2 separate regions of the Homo sapiens genome follow, and region 1 is linked to region 2. The links are contacts of gene promoters, found by promoter capture Hi-C in blood cells and fetal thymus (Javierre and others, 2016). All regions are on one chromosome and are shown on one strand. Each heading gives the region's core, a stretch centred on a gene start or on the middle of the fragment in contact. The rest is flanking DNA. Distances are from core to core; before and after follow the strand shown. Region 1 has its middle 25 kb from the start of PRP4K. Region 2 holds the start of SLC22A23 (solute carrier family 22 member 23).

Region 1 (6,540 bases), core at 1,320-3,819, 540 kb before region 2:
GCTTTGTTGTAAGGTTCATTAAAACAAAACAAAATTTCTTTTTTTAATTGAGTTAGGGTCTCTCTCTGTCCCCCAAGCTGGAGTGCAGTGGTGCGATCTTGGCTAACTGCAACTTCCGCCTTACGAGTTCAAGCAGTTCTTTGCCTCAGCCTCCCAGGTAGCTGAAATTACAGGCACACGCTACCAAGCCTGGCTGATTTTTGTATTTTTAGTAGAGATGGGGTTTCGCCATGTTGGCCAGGCTGGTCTTGAACTCCTGAGCACAAGTGATCCACCCACTTGGGTCCCCCAAAGTGCTGGGATTACAGTCGCGCAACACCACACCTGGCTAATTTTTGTATTTTTAGTAGAGATGGGTTTTCGCCATGTTGGCCAGGCTAGTCTTGAACTCCTGAGCTCAAGTGATTCACCTGCCTTGGCCTCCCAAATTGCTGGGATCACAGGCGTGAGCCACCACACCCAGCGAAAAGAGCAAGTAATTCTTGCAAATTTTTTACCCAAACCTTTAGAATGTGTTCTTTTTTTTTTCTTTTTTTTTTTTTTTTGGTTTTGGGTTTTTTTTTTTTTTTTTTTTTGAGCATTTATGAAATGGCTGTGAACTTCTTCTAACTTCTAACTTTCCAAGTTGTCTCCTTTTGGCCCTAGGAGTAGAATTTTTCTTTAATTCTCAGCTGGTGAGATCTGTTGCCACCACAGTTCAAAATAACGATTAAGTACTGAGGCCAGCCCATGCCTGATCCTTCAGTGATGTTAGGAAGGTGAATGCTTGGCTGTTTGAAAGCCTCCTTATTGTCATTTCCAATCCATTCTCTCTGCTTCTATTCCTTTTCTCCCAAAACATTTCAGTGTTGTCAGTTCATACTCTGGAGTCTTTGGAAAAAGAGATTGTTGTCTTTTTATGAATTTGTCCAAATTTTAGTTGTTTCTGGTTAAGTTTAGACCAAGAGGGATCCATGTCCCTACAGGATTACCCCTATTTCAACCAGTAGATGAGGAATATCCAGCTTTAATTTGTCAGAGCAAAAATCCATTAATGTTTTCTCATTACTCATAAAAAAAAATCCAGCTCCTTACTGTGGCCTATAAACCTCTCCATGATTGGCCCTCCTTAATTTATCTCTTTTAGTCTTGAAGTTTCAGGCACACCTCCTTTTCTTTTATTGAAATTCTCAAAGCCAGGTACAGTGGCTCACCTGAGTTTATTCAAGGCTAATCCGTAATTAGGGAAATAAAGGTTACAGCTGCCTGTTAGTGACTCAGGTCGTATAATCACATTCCTTTAAGGCTCAAAATAACGTTCCAATAGCTTTGATTTTGAATTACTTATTTTCACAAGTTCTATAAAATTACAGAGTTCTCATCTATTTTTGTTGGCAGCTGTTTGCCTAGCAGTTGAAAGTGCTTAGCACATGATAGTATATGATAAACATTTGTTTAATTTATTTCAATATTGTCAGTCCATATTCCAGCTTCTTTGGCAAAGGAGACTGTTGTTTTTATATGAATTTATCCAAATTTTAGTTGTTTCCAGCTAAGTTTAGACCAAGAGCCCCCACAGAATTACTTCCATGTCAACTAGTAGAGGAAGAGCTTTAATTTAGGATTTAAATGCCACACCACAATTATCTAAAGTGACTGAATTGAGCTACTGAATAATAGTCCTTCTAAAGAAGATTTTAGACACACATTTCATTTCTGTTATTGCTGACAAGTGTTTTATTTTACAGAATAAAAGGCATCTTGCCTGGGATAAAATTTCGAAAGGCTGTGTTTTTGTAGCACTTTCTTTTTTGGAAGGATCTCTTTTTAGCTACTCTGTGTCATGGTGATGTTGAGTTCTCTGTTGGAAGCTAGAGTTCCTGGGTTTTTTGATGTTTCTAGGCTTTTGGGTTTTGTTTAAGATTTGTGTTTTGGGAAGGAACATTTCCATGGTTACGCCCATTCCTTCTACCATCCTTGAAAAAACGAGCCAGTAGAGTAATCTGATTCCTGGATTACTACTACACAGATGTCTTTTGTATCTGCCTACACATGAAACTGCTAGGCAAGTTCCATTTCCATGCATTTACTTCCTTCAGTGCTTTTTAAAAATGAAGCACTTTTAAGATTAGGAATGAAAGACTTGGATTGGCAAGTTAAACAGGGATTGGCCTACGTTATGTTAATAGTCTAAACTCAATGTAGGATTAATTTAGAGGTACAGTATATGAAGGGAGAGACTGTTTTGGGAACAACTAAATCGAAGCTTTGAGCAGAATTTGCACACATGTGAGTAATACTATATGCAGAAAGACTGCTGTACTTAAAAATAGTTTTCAGGTTTTTAAATATAAAGTTTCATGTTGGAATAGTAAAATAAAACATATGAACTTTTACTGACATGAAGCAGTAAAATTAACTTTTCCTTGGAACAGCTTGCATGCTCATTGCTGCTCCACACAAACCTAGGTTAAAGATGCCCATGATCTAGCAGTTTTCTTCTCTGAACATTGCAGAGCATTTGCACAGACATGCTTGAATTTACACTCATGAGTCCATTTCAAGTAAGAAGAGGGAGTAAGAGAGGGACCTCCTTCTCAGGGTTAAGGAAGGCCTAAATTATGAAAAAGTAGTGCAGCTTTTTTCTTAAGTTAAAGTAACGGTAAATTTACACCACATTTCTCTATGAATCCAGTATATGAAAAGTTTAATTTGCGTGTTAACTATTGCTGTGCAGACAGCTTGTCAAGTGATGATTTTGACAGCCTGGTGTCTGTCTCCATTCTGCTGGAACATCAGACGCCATTTCTCTTCTTCCTGAGAAAACCACCTCTCATACTTTGGTATCCCTCTAAAGTGTTTCAATTGTAAATTACTACTAATATATAATTACTATTCATTTATAGAAGCTTCTAGCTTAAACATAAAAATATACTAAAAGTGAAACAACCGTAATCTTAACCTCTAGACATAGATTATTTTTCTATGAACACATTAACATATATGTCATAGTTACTATTGTTTTTTACAATAAAAGGCTCATACTATACATACATACAACTTGTTCTGGTATATATTTTGAATCTTCATAATAGCATTTGTAGATATGCTTTATTTTTTGTAGTTTTGTTTTTTTCTTTAGCCATCCTTGCAAATACTATGTATTTTGCTTCCTTAAATCAGTATTTCAGTAGGAAAAATTCTTAGAAATTAAACTGTGAGGGCAAGCAATTGTGAACATTTACATTTTAATAAGTACCAACAAATTACCTTAAAACGTGTACCGATGGATACTCTTAGTAAAATGTAAGAGAGTGATTCACTACATTCTTACTAGCTCAGGCATTATCAATTTTTTTTTATTTTAAATTACTGCCTAAGAAATACAGTCATATATCTTGTTCTTTTATTTTAAATTTCTATTTGAGAAGTTATGCACTTTTGTTTGTTTGTTTTTTGAGACAGAGTCTTACTCTGTCATCCAGGCTGGAGTGCAGTGGCACAATCTCAGCTCACTGCAACCTCTACCTCTCAGGTTCAGGTGATTCTCGTGCCTCAGCCTCCCGAGTAGCTGGGATTACAGGCGCCTGCCACCACGCCTGGCTGAGTTTTGTATTTTCAGTAGAGATGGGGTTTCACCGTGTTGGACCAGCTGGTTTGGAATTCCTGACCTCAGGTGATCCCCCCACTCAGCCTCCCAAAGTGCTGGGATTGCAGGCGTGAGCCACCATGCCTAGCCAGTTACACACTTTTTAATGTGATTATTAATCACCATTATTTCTACTTATTCAAGCTGACTGTTCACATATTTTACTCTTTTTAAAGCATGCATTTTAAATAAATTGATAATAAATGTTTTTGTCAAATATTGCACGTCTTCTCCCCTACATTTATTGAATGCTTACTGCATGCTAGGCTCTGTGCTAAATACTTTACATACATTATTCCATTTAATCCTCACATTAATTTTGGGGAATGTGTTATTTTCATGTTCACACAAGGAAAATGGGTTCAGAGAGGTTAAGGAATTTGCCCAAATTTACAGTTAGTTTATTTTTATTTTTATTTTGAGACAGGGTATGTCTCTATCACCCAGGCTGGAGTGCAGTGGCACGATCCCAGCTCAGTGCAAACTCCGCCTCCTAGGTTCAAGCAATTCTAGTGCCTCAGCCTCCTGAGTGGATGGGACTGTAGGTGCCTGCCACCATACCCAGCTAATTTTTTGTAGAGGCAGGGTTTCACCATGTTGCCCAGGCCTGGTCTTGAATTCCTGAGCTCAAGTGATCTGCCCGCCTCAGCCTCCCAAAGTGCTGGGATTACAGCCACGAGCCACTGTGCCCGCTCCACAGTTTTAGAAGTGGCATTCAAACAGAGCTCAATCACAATAAAAGGCACATCACAAACTATGATAATCCCCCACCTCTTGGATTGTCTTTTATCTCTTAACTTTGTGGAGGGTTTTTGCTTTGATTTTGTTTGTTATGTTATAATGAAGTTTTAAATTGTTAATCATTCCATATGGTGTCTAGGTTTTCCGCCATGATTATAAAGCCCTTCCCTAGCCCCATGTGATACAATTTTCTTTCTTATAATACTTTTATATTTCATTTCTTTTTAAGTCTTTGGTATATCTGACAGCAATTTATGTATGATTCAGATGTATATTTTTTTCCCCAAAGGTCCCAACACCTTTACTGAATAATCTTTTTCCCATAATTTGAGATGACACCTTTATCATACACTTATATGCCCTGTATATTTGAGTCTATATCTGGACTCCCTTCTGGTATAAAGAAGTGCAGTTGACTTTTGTATAACGACCTTATACCTGTCCACCTTGTTAAACCCTCTTACTATTTCTAATATCATGTCTACAGATTCTGATTTTCTGTTAAAATGGTTAATAATTCTGTCTCTCTCTCTTTTTTTTTTTTTTTGACATGGAATTTTGCTCTTATTGCCCAGGCTGGAGTGCAGTGGTACAGTCTTGGCTCACTGCAACCTCTGCCTCCTGGGCTCAAGTGGTTCTCCTGCCTCAGCCTCCCAAGTAGCTGGGATTACAGGCGCCTGCCACTACACCTGGCTAATTTTTGTATTTTTAGTAGAGATGAGGTTTCACCATGTTGGCCAGTCTGGTCTTGAACTCCTGACCTCAGGTGACCCGCCTGTCTCAGCCTCCCAAAGTGCTAGGATCACAGGCGTGAGCCACCGCGCCTGGCCCTTAACATGGTTAATAATTCTCTGATAAAGATTGTTCTAGTCTTTTTCAATCCTTTCTCATCCTTTTGATTCAACTTATTTTTCTTATGTGCTATTGAAGTCCTTCAAGTCTATGTTGTTTTTTTTTATTTCTAAAAATAAAACCAAGAATACCAGAAAACCCTAAGGCTGAAGTAACTGAAAACCAAACTCAAAAATTGATCTGTAGGGTTATTCAGTTACTCTGTTGGTTAGTCACCAGGTCGTGTAAGTGCAAGTCCTAATCAGGAAAAACCAAGACTTTGTGAATTAGGATGGGGACACTCCAGAGGATTCGGAGACCTCCTTGACTCCATGGAGTACTCTGAACTCAATGCCTTGAGCCTCCTCTGCTTGTCAAAGCCTTTCCTTCCTCTTAATCCTCCCGAGGGTGTTTTCCTCCTGACACCAAATGTGTGATGTCCGTTCTAACACCAGCCATTTCTCCAGTTCTCTAGACATCAACCGGATGTCCAATAATTCAATTAAATTCTGATACTGTCTGCCTGCGTTAGCATCCACCCCTACAAGTTAAAGGCTCAGTCCCACAATACTTCCCTACTTCAGATGTCAGCTGTAAATGGGGTGCCCAGGTGATCCACATTTCTGCCCAGGTGACTACAAATTTGGGGGTTCCCATGGCCCCTTCCCCTCAGTTTCTATAATTTGCTAGAATGCCTCACAGAACTCAGCAAAGCCCTGAAGCACTGATTATTCTCATTTTATTATAAAAGATAACAGCTCAGGCCTGGCACGGTGGCTCACACCTATAGTCTCAGTAACTTGGGAGGTTGAGGTGGGAGTATTAGAGCAGGTAGTTAGACGTGAGCAGGGCAGAAGAGGGTCCTTCCACCACCAGGAATGTTAGGCAACCATCAGGTGATGGTCAGGTGGTTGTTAACTGTCTCTTTAAAATAATAATTGGTTGCAGCCAGTGCTAGGGAAAGGCAGTCTCCCAACAGATAGAAAACACCTGAAACTGGTGACTAGCAGCTTCCCAATATGATCTCAGGAGTTGGGTGAGTGGGCTCAAGCATGTGCACTCAAAGGCAAAATGGCAGAGTTTAACGGGTATATGACCTTCCTCTAGGAACATTCAACTTGTAGGAAAGAACGCCTCAATGTGCATTTGTTCAACTTCAGTAAACACACTGTGCATTGGCCCCCTCCTAAGTGCTGGCAGGCCACCGCACATGCAGAATACCAGCATATGAAACCCCAAGTCAGAGGTCAAACTGGGCACTTGAACTCCTCAAGACTCCTGCTTGGCTATCTTCCAAGTGTACCTTACATTCTTTGATTCCTGCTTTAAAACTTTTTAAT
Region 2 (6,529 bases), core at 368-2,867:
AGAACTTTGCATGTATTAGCTCTTCAAATGAGGGGAGGAGAGGGAAGGAAAAGAAAAGTTAAGCTAATAAATAATGTGAAGTTGAAAAATTACCACGTACACAACGTGCACTATCGTGTCCCCCCCCGCCCCAAGCCCCCAGCTCTTTATATATGTGGTTTCCAGACCCATTTCTCAGCGGTCTGGTGTCTTTTGCAGCCCTTAGGGCCCCTTCCGCCCATTGTTATCTAATCACCCCTTCTCGGCCACGCAGGAAGGTCCACAACCTCCCCTGTCCCCCAAGACCCGCCCCCCGGCAGCCTTCAGAAATAGTTCTCTGGTACGTATGTGCCAGCATTTTATGCAGTAAACACATGTTGCCCTTAACACTGAACTGCAGGTTAAAAATGTATTCCACTAAATTGTGCAGCGGTTAGCTGAGCAAATAATGAAAATGCAAAAGAATACATTCAGTATATGGAGCTTAGAATATATCCTTTTGGAAAGCTAAACATTTTTTTTTTTTTTGCCCCAAATAAGACTAGAAATGGATTGCTCCATTTAAGACTTCCATTAATAAACTTCTCAGAATATGAAATGCCTCCAAAATGTGGGGACGCTGGGTTGAAAGGTGCCGGATAATTCTCTTTGGTGCGTGCGCTGGGTGCAGGAGGAAATATGCTAATGTAGCCGTTTGCCGCAGGGCTGGTGTTATTTATACAGCGCTGGCTGGGCAAGGTTGGCGCTGGAGCAGGAGAGGAGGGAGAGGTTTGTCTTCTTGTGTGAGAGTATAGATGTGTGCGCCTGTGCACACGGCGTTCCAAACGTGAATACAAGATCTTAGGGAGGGGGTGGGGAATGCCATCACGTTTATACTGTGTGTATTATAACTTGTGTTGGAGATATATCCCAGCATCGTGCTTACATCGCATGCACTTAGGAGTGGGGGAAGAAATGGCGATTTGGGAGTGGGTGCGGCGGGTCGCAGGTGGCCAGACACTGCGGGGGACTGGCGACCTGAAATTGGCAAAGGCGCCTCCTTGACCCTGCTCCACGGACACAAAAATCAACCTTATTCGCTCCTGGAAAAAGCGCAGAGGGTTGTTCCCGAAGGCTGAAGACCCTCGGGCTTGGGACTGGGAGCGGGGCGCGGGCAGCGGGACCGCCGGGCACCTCTGAAGAGACAGAGGTCACGGAGACCTGGCGCGCGCGGAGTGGGTGGGGGGCCCGCGCGGCTGCGGGAGCCCAGCCTCAGAGAAGACCCGGCCCACACGTTCTCAGCGCACGCCGACTTTGCCGGGACCCGTCGCCGGCCGGCGACCCCTGCTACGCGCGTCTCCTCCTCCCCCGCCCCGCCCGGCGCGAAACGGGCAACGGGCAGGGGATCCTCCAGCCAGGCGGGCCCGGGGTGTCCCGTTTCCCCCGCCCCCCTCCCGTGGATCCCGGGCGGCGGCGGCCGCGCGTCCGGGCTGGAGGGGGCGCTCGCGAGCAGGAGCCGAGCGCAGCAGGTGCCGCGGTTACCTCCACCTCGGCGGGGGGAGAGGGGGCGGGCCGGGGGGCAGGGAGGAGGGGGAGGAGGAGGAGGAGGAGGAGGAGTGGGGCCGGCTCCAGGAGCTGGAGAGCGCGGCCGGCTCGGCAGGCTGGGTCCAGAGCTCGCGGCTTCCGGGAGGCGCCCGAAGTCGGAGAAATACAGCGCGGCCACCCCGGGAGCAGCAGCCTTTGCCCGCACCGCCGCCCGCAGGGCCCTGAACCGCCGGCAAGGGCGCGGGCCGGGCGCGGCGCCGGCTCCTCCTCCTGCCGCGTCCGGCGCGGAGCAGCGGAGAGCGGCGGGCTCGGCAGCCGGCGCCCGGGCCGCGGAACTGATGAGCCGCGGCGGCTGAGGGCCCGGCCGGCCTCTGCCCGCCTCTGCCCGGCGCCCGAGCGGGGCCGCAGCGCCCGGGGCGCGGGGTCCGGCGGGTGACATGGGGGCGGCCTGACGCACCCGGAGCCGCCGAGCGCTCTCTCTCGAGCCGCGGGCCCTCCTCGGCGGCAGCGGCTGCAGGCGCCTGGCCCGGCGCGCTGTGCCCGGGGCGCCCGCGGAGCCTCCGCCGCGCTCTATGCGCCTCTGCGGGAGCCGCGGGCCCGGGCCATGGCCATAGACCGGCGGCGCGAGGCGGCGGGCGGCGGGCCTGGGCGGCAGCCGGCCCCGGCCGAGGAGAACGGCTCCCTGCCGCCCGGGGACGCGGCGGCCTCGGCGCCCCTCGGGGGACGCGCGGGCCCCGGCGGCGGCGCGGAGATCCAGCCGCTGCCCCCACTGCATCCTGGAGGCGGCCCGCACCCGAGCTGCTGCTCCGCGGCTGCGGCCCCGAGCCTCTTGTTGCTGGACTATGACGGGTCGGTGCTGCCCTTCCTCGGGGGCCTGGGCGGGGGCTATCAGAAGACCCTCGTGCTGCTCACCTGGATCCCGGCGCTGTTCATCGGCTTCAGCCAGTTCTCGGACTCGTTCCTCCTGGACCAGCCCAACTTCTGGTGCCGCGGGGCCGGCAAAGGCACCGAGCTGGCAGGGGTCACCACCACAGGCCGGGGCGGGGACATGGGCAACTGGACCAGCCTCCCCACCACCCCCTTCGCCACTGCCCCCTGGGAGGCTGCGGGCAACCGGAGCAACAGCAGCGGCGCGGACGGAGGCGACACACCACCCCTGCCATCCCCTCCGGACAAGGGGGACAACGCCTCCAACTGTGACTGCCGCGCATGGGACTACGGCATCCGCGCCGGCCTCGTCCAGAACGTGGTCAGCAAGGTAAGGGCCGCAGCCGCCCAGTCCCTCCAACCCTCTCCCTGCAGACCGAGGTCCAAGCCCGAGCCAGCGGGAGAACCGAAGTCCCCAAAGTGGTGGTGCTAGAGTGTGTGTAGGGCATTCCGCATTGGCTTAATCTCCTTCCGTCCCCCAAACCACATGCCTTTACTTGGGTGTAAAGGGAGCACCATAGCCTTTACTAGTTTGCACCCAAACTCCTGTCCCAGTACGCGGATGGAAAGCGCGCCCTTCCCCCACCCTCGGGGCGAGGCAGCTGACCTGTCACCAGCCCCCTCTGGAGGAGTCGGACTGGCGTCGTTCAAGGTCTGCTGGGGGAGTCGGGACCACAGCCCTGTTCTGCCCGGCTAGTTGTCCCTGGGTCTCCCACAAAGCAATAGTCTTCCATCTCGCACTTGATTTTGACACAGGTAAAGCCTACTAAAGAACTGGAGAGCCAGAGAAGCAAAGACTCCTGCAAATCCCCAACCCGCAGCCGATGCTTAGTCCTCCCCAAAGATATCTGACTTTAGGCTTTGCTACCCCAGTGTCTCCTCCCATGTTTTCTCAGCACTTCAGTAAACATCACTACAGTATAGGAAGGACGCGGAGAATATGTCATTTGGGTGTTCCCCGGCCGTCACCGCTCTTACACAGCAGCTGCTTTGGGCTGAGGCACTGAGAACGGGGGTGTGCTTTAGCTGAAACATGCACCTTGTCCTCTGAGTCCTGTAGCTAAAGCTCCCTTGCAGAGGTATTGCGTGGTGTGAAATGTAGCAGAAGGGAGTTGTGAGACAAGTGTGAAGGCCTAAACACAGAGTGGGCAATGGTGGACACTCAATGCCCCTAGACAGCTGTAATTTTATTCTTAACATATAAGAGATATCAAGACATTTGTAGTTTTGCTCCTTGTGTCTAAACTAATTAATTCACATTTTAAAGTAAATACAGACTCTCCTCCACCCCACCCGCTACCCATTCTGGGCTGTTCTGGCAGAGTTTTAAATGCTTTGTCGAAATGTATGAAATTGGACAGTTTTAAATAGTCAATGTGCATGTAACCTCCTCCCCCCGTGTGCATTGGTTAACAGTTGTAGCTCATGGATGTGTAAGATAAACTCTTACATCATCATAATCATTGTTTTAATCTTGTACCAACCTGGCCAGAAATGCTCTGTCCTGTGGGAACTGTCTGACTGAGCTGCCCCTGCTGCCCTGCAAGGTAATGGGGAAGGTCCTTCTAGCTGGGTTCACCTTGATCCCACCCACCTCCTACCCCCTGCTTTCTAAAGGTGTTTCTGTGACTGTTTTCCCTTCACGGAGGGCAATATTTCTTTGTTGGTTTAGCAGCAAAGAAAAATTAAGAACAATGACTATTTAAATCACTGTGTATGTCTGACAGACTGAGGATTTGGCAACATTGTTAAGTATTTCAAGTGTCTTTCTAGAGCAGAGGGAGAATAATGGATCAAAGTGAGTATGTGTGAAGAGCGCTGTGTCCTGGGGTCAAAGTAGAGGTGAACTTGAAAGTGATGAGATGGGATAGAGTGCCATTACCTTGGCAGTGAGGACCCAGGAAACAGCTATTCACACTCAGCCATGCACGGTGGGAGGAGAGAACAAAAATAGTTCTTAAAAGCAGACTATGGAGGCATATTGGAGAGCTGGGCAGTTTTTCTAAATTAGCATTCGAGAGGGTCACAGACAGCCCTCATGTGTGTGGCATGTTTTGGGTGATGCTTGATGACACGTTGCAGTTACTGGGCCAGACTGAGAGGGGAAACCTGGGAACAATAATTAGACACACATTTTCTTATACAGTAAAGCCTAGAAAGGACATATTGATTTTCACAGACAAAAAAGATCTAAATAAAGGACTGCCTTCCCAGTGTTCTGTGTGTTTCAAGCACATAACAAATGCTTCAAAGAGCTTTTCAAGCACATTTTGGCATGTTGGAAGGCAGACTTTTCCTGTGCTGCTGTGTATGTTGAATACTGTATCAGATGCACTAATGTGGGATGTACACTATGGTGAGTGCAGGAGTTCCAGGGGTCAGGTGCTTGTCAGCCCACATCCCAAGTAGAAGCAGAAAGTGGAAGGAGCCTTTGCCTTCTTTCAGTGGATAAAAGCTCAGGGTTTGAGAAGCTGCCTTTTGTGCCTCTTTCCTGCTCTGTTCCATGATCTTTCTCTTGCAAATAAGCCTCATGCTGTCTTCAGCATGTATCCTGTATTTAGTATGTATCCTTTAGCGTGTGTGTGCCCTACAATATATGCACCATTCTGTCCCTAGGTGTCAGAAAGGGAGAGGAAGACAGAAGAGCTACCAGGCACAGTTCTGGACCTCTTTCTCATGTGGCTGCTGGTATCCTAGCACCTACCTACACACGTGAAACTGTCAAGCCAGTTAGAATCCCAGGTTATTGTAGTTAAAAGGGATCTTAGGGCTGACCAGCCTCTCTCGCCTTCTGCATGATATCTCTAACATGAAGTTATCCATCCTAGTTTGAACACTTCCATCGATGGAAAGGGAGTGCTTTGTTAACAAGGCAGCTAGTCCATCCCGTAGTTGCTTTTCCTTGCAGGAAGGCACACTTTGGTAAATAAAACTCAGGTTAACTCATGCCTATTTGTGCCACTTGCTCCTCAGAATAATTTTTTTTAAAAAATTATTTCTTAAATAAAATGTGTTTTCAATAGCTTCTTTCCTGGCTGAAAAATCTACAGTACTTAAGCTATTCCATACGTGCAAAAATTTGCCATACTTATCGCTCTGGTTGGCATGTGTGTCTCTTAAGCATGGTACCCAGAATCCAACCCAGCCAGGCCCTGTGTGTTCTAACCCAAAGAGGGGATTGATGGATACTGTCCTTCCCCTACTGCAACCTAGAGTTGATTCATTAGGCTTAAACTAGACATGACATACTTCTGCTTCCAGACCATGATCACCAACCCCTCCAATGTTGTTTTCCTGGGAGTGGTGGATGAAATCAGGATTTTCTCAGTTTTAGGCTCATGTAGCATGACCATGACTTAGGTTTCATCTTAACAATTTTGAGTTTCTAGATCTCTCCCGTTAGGATCTTTTTATTTTTTGCCTTGGCCTTTGTATTTGTTATTGGTACCAGAATTTGCATCGCAGAATCTGCAATGCCTTCAAAATAATGACAACATTAATGTCAGTTTCTTTTGTGCAGCCCTTTATAGTTTATAAAACATTTCATATACATTATTTTCTTTGATTAAGAATAATAACCCAAGGTCAGTCTCTAGGCTTTTTTTTTTTTTTTTTTTTTTTTTTTTTTTTTTTTTTTAGACAGCGTCTGGCTCTGTTGCCCAGGCTGGAGTCCAGTGGTACGATATCACAGCTCTCTGAAGCCTCCACCTCCCAGGCTTAAGTGATCTTTCTGCCTCAGCCTCCTGAGTAGCTGGGACTACAGGCATGCACCACCACACCTGGCTCATTTTTATTTTTATTTTTTTGTAGAGAGGGGGGTCTTGCTATATTGCCCAGGCTGGTGTTGAACTCCTGGCCTCAAGCTGTCCTTCTGCCTCGGCCTCCCAAAGTGTTAGGATTATAGGTGTGAGCCACCAGCCAGACTAATAGCAGGTGCCAATCATGGATTTTAAGTCAGTGAACACACAGTTGAGTGTGCCATGTGTTCTGTACAAGAACCAGGTACAGATGCTCCTCTGCTTCGGATGGTGTTGTGTCTTGTGTCCAGATAAACCCCTCATCAGTTGGAAATATTGAAAGTGGAAAATACATTTAATAC

Evidence for each region. Contacts are between HindIII fragments. The CHiCAGO score rates a contact against its expected background, and 5 or more counts as called.
Region 1: a fragment that was not itself captured here is called in contact with the fragment with the promoter of SLC22A23 in region 2 in 1 of 17 cell types (endothelial precursors); the score reaches 5.4 in endothelial precursors.

Annotation. Positions count from the first base shown.
Region 1 is chr6:3,992,740-3,999,279 of GRCh38, reverse strand. No RefSeq gene overlaps it. Among named protein-coding and RNA genes, the nearest start is that of PRP4K, 25 kb to the left of the region's middle. The HindIII fragment of the contact is 643 bases long and covers 2,248-2,890 here.
Region 2 is chr6:3,452,138-3,458,666 of GRCh38, reverse strand. SLC22A23 (solute carrier family 22 member 23) reads left to right here and starts at 1,617. Exons shown (of 10, transcript NM_015482.2): 1 at 1,617-2,761. The coding sequence starts at 2,108. It overlaps LOC643327 (a long non-coding RNA gene), which reads right to left and starts at 2,964. Exons shown (of 2, transcript NR_147844.1): 1 at 2,416-2,964. RefSeq lists silencers at 1,340-1,559, 1,620-1,849. The HindIII fragment of the contact is 25,330 bases long and covers 1-6,529 here.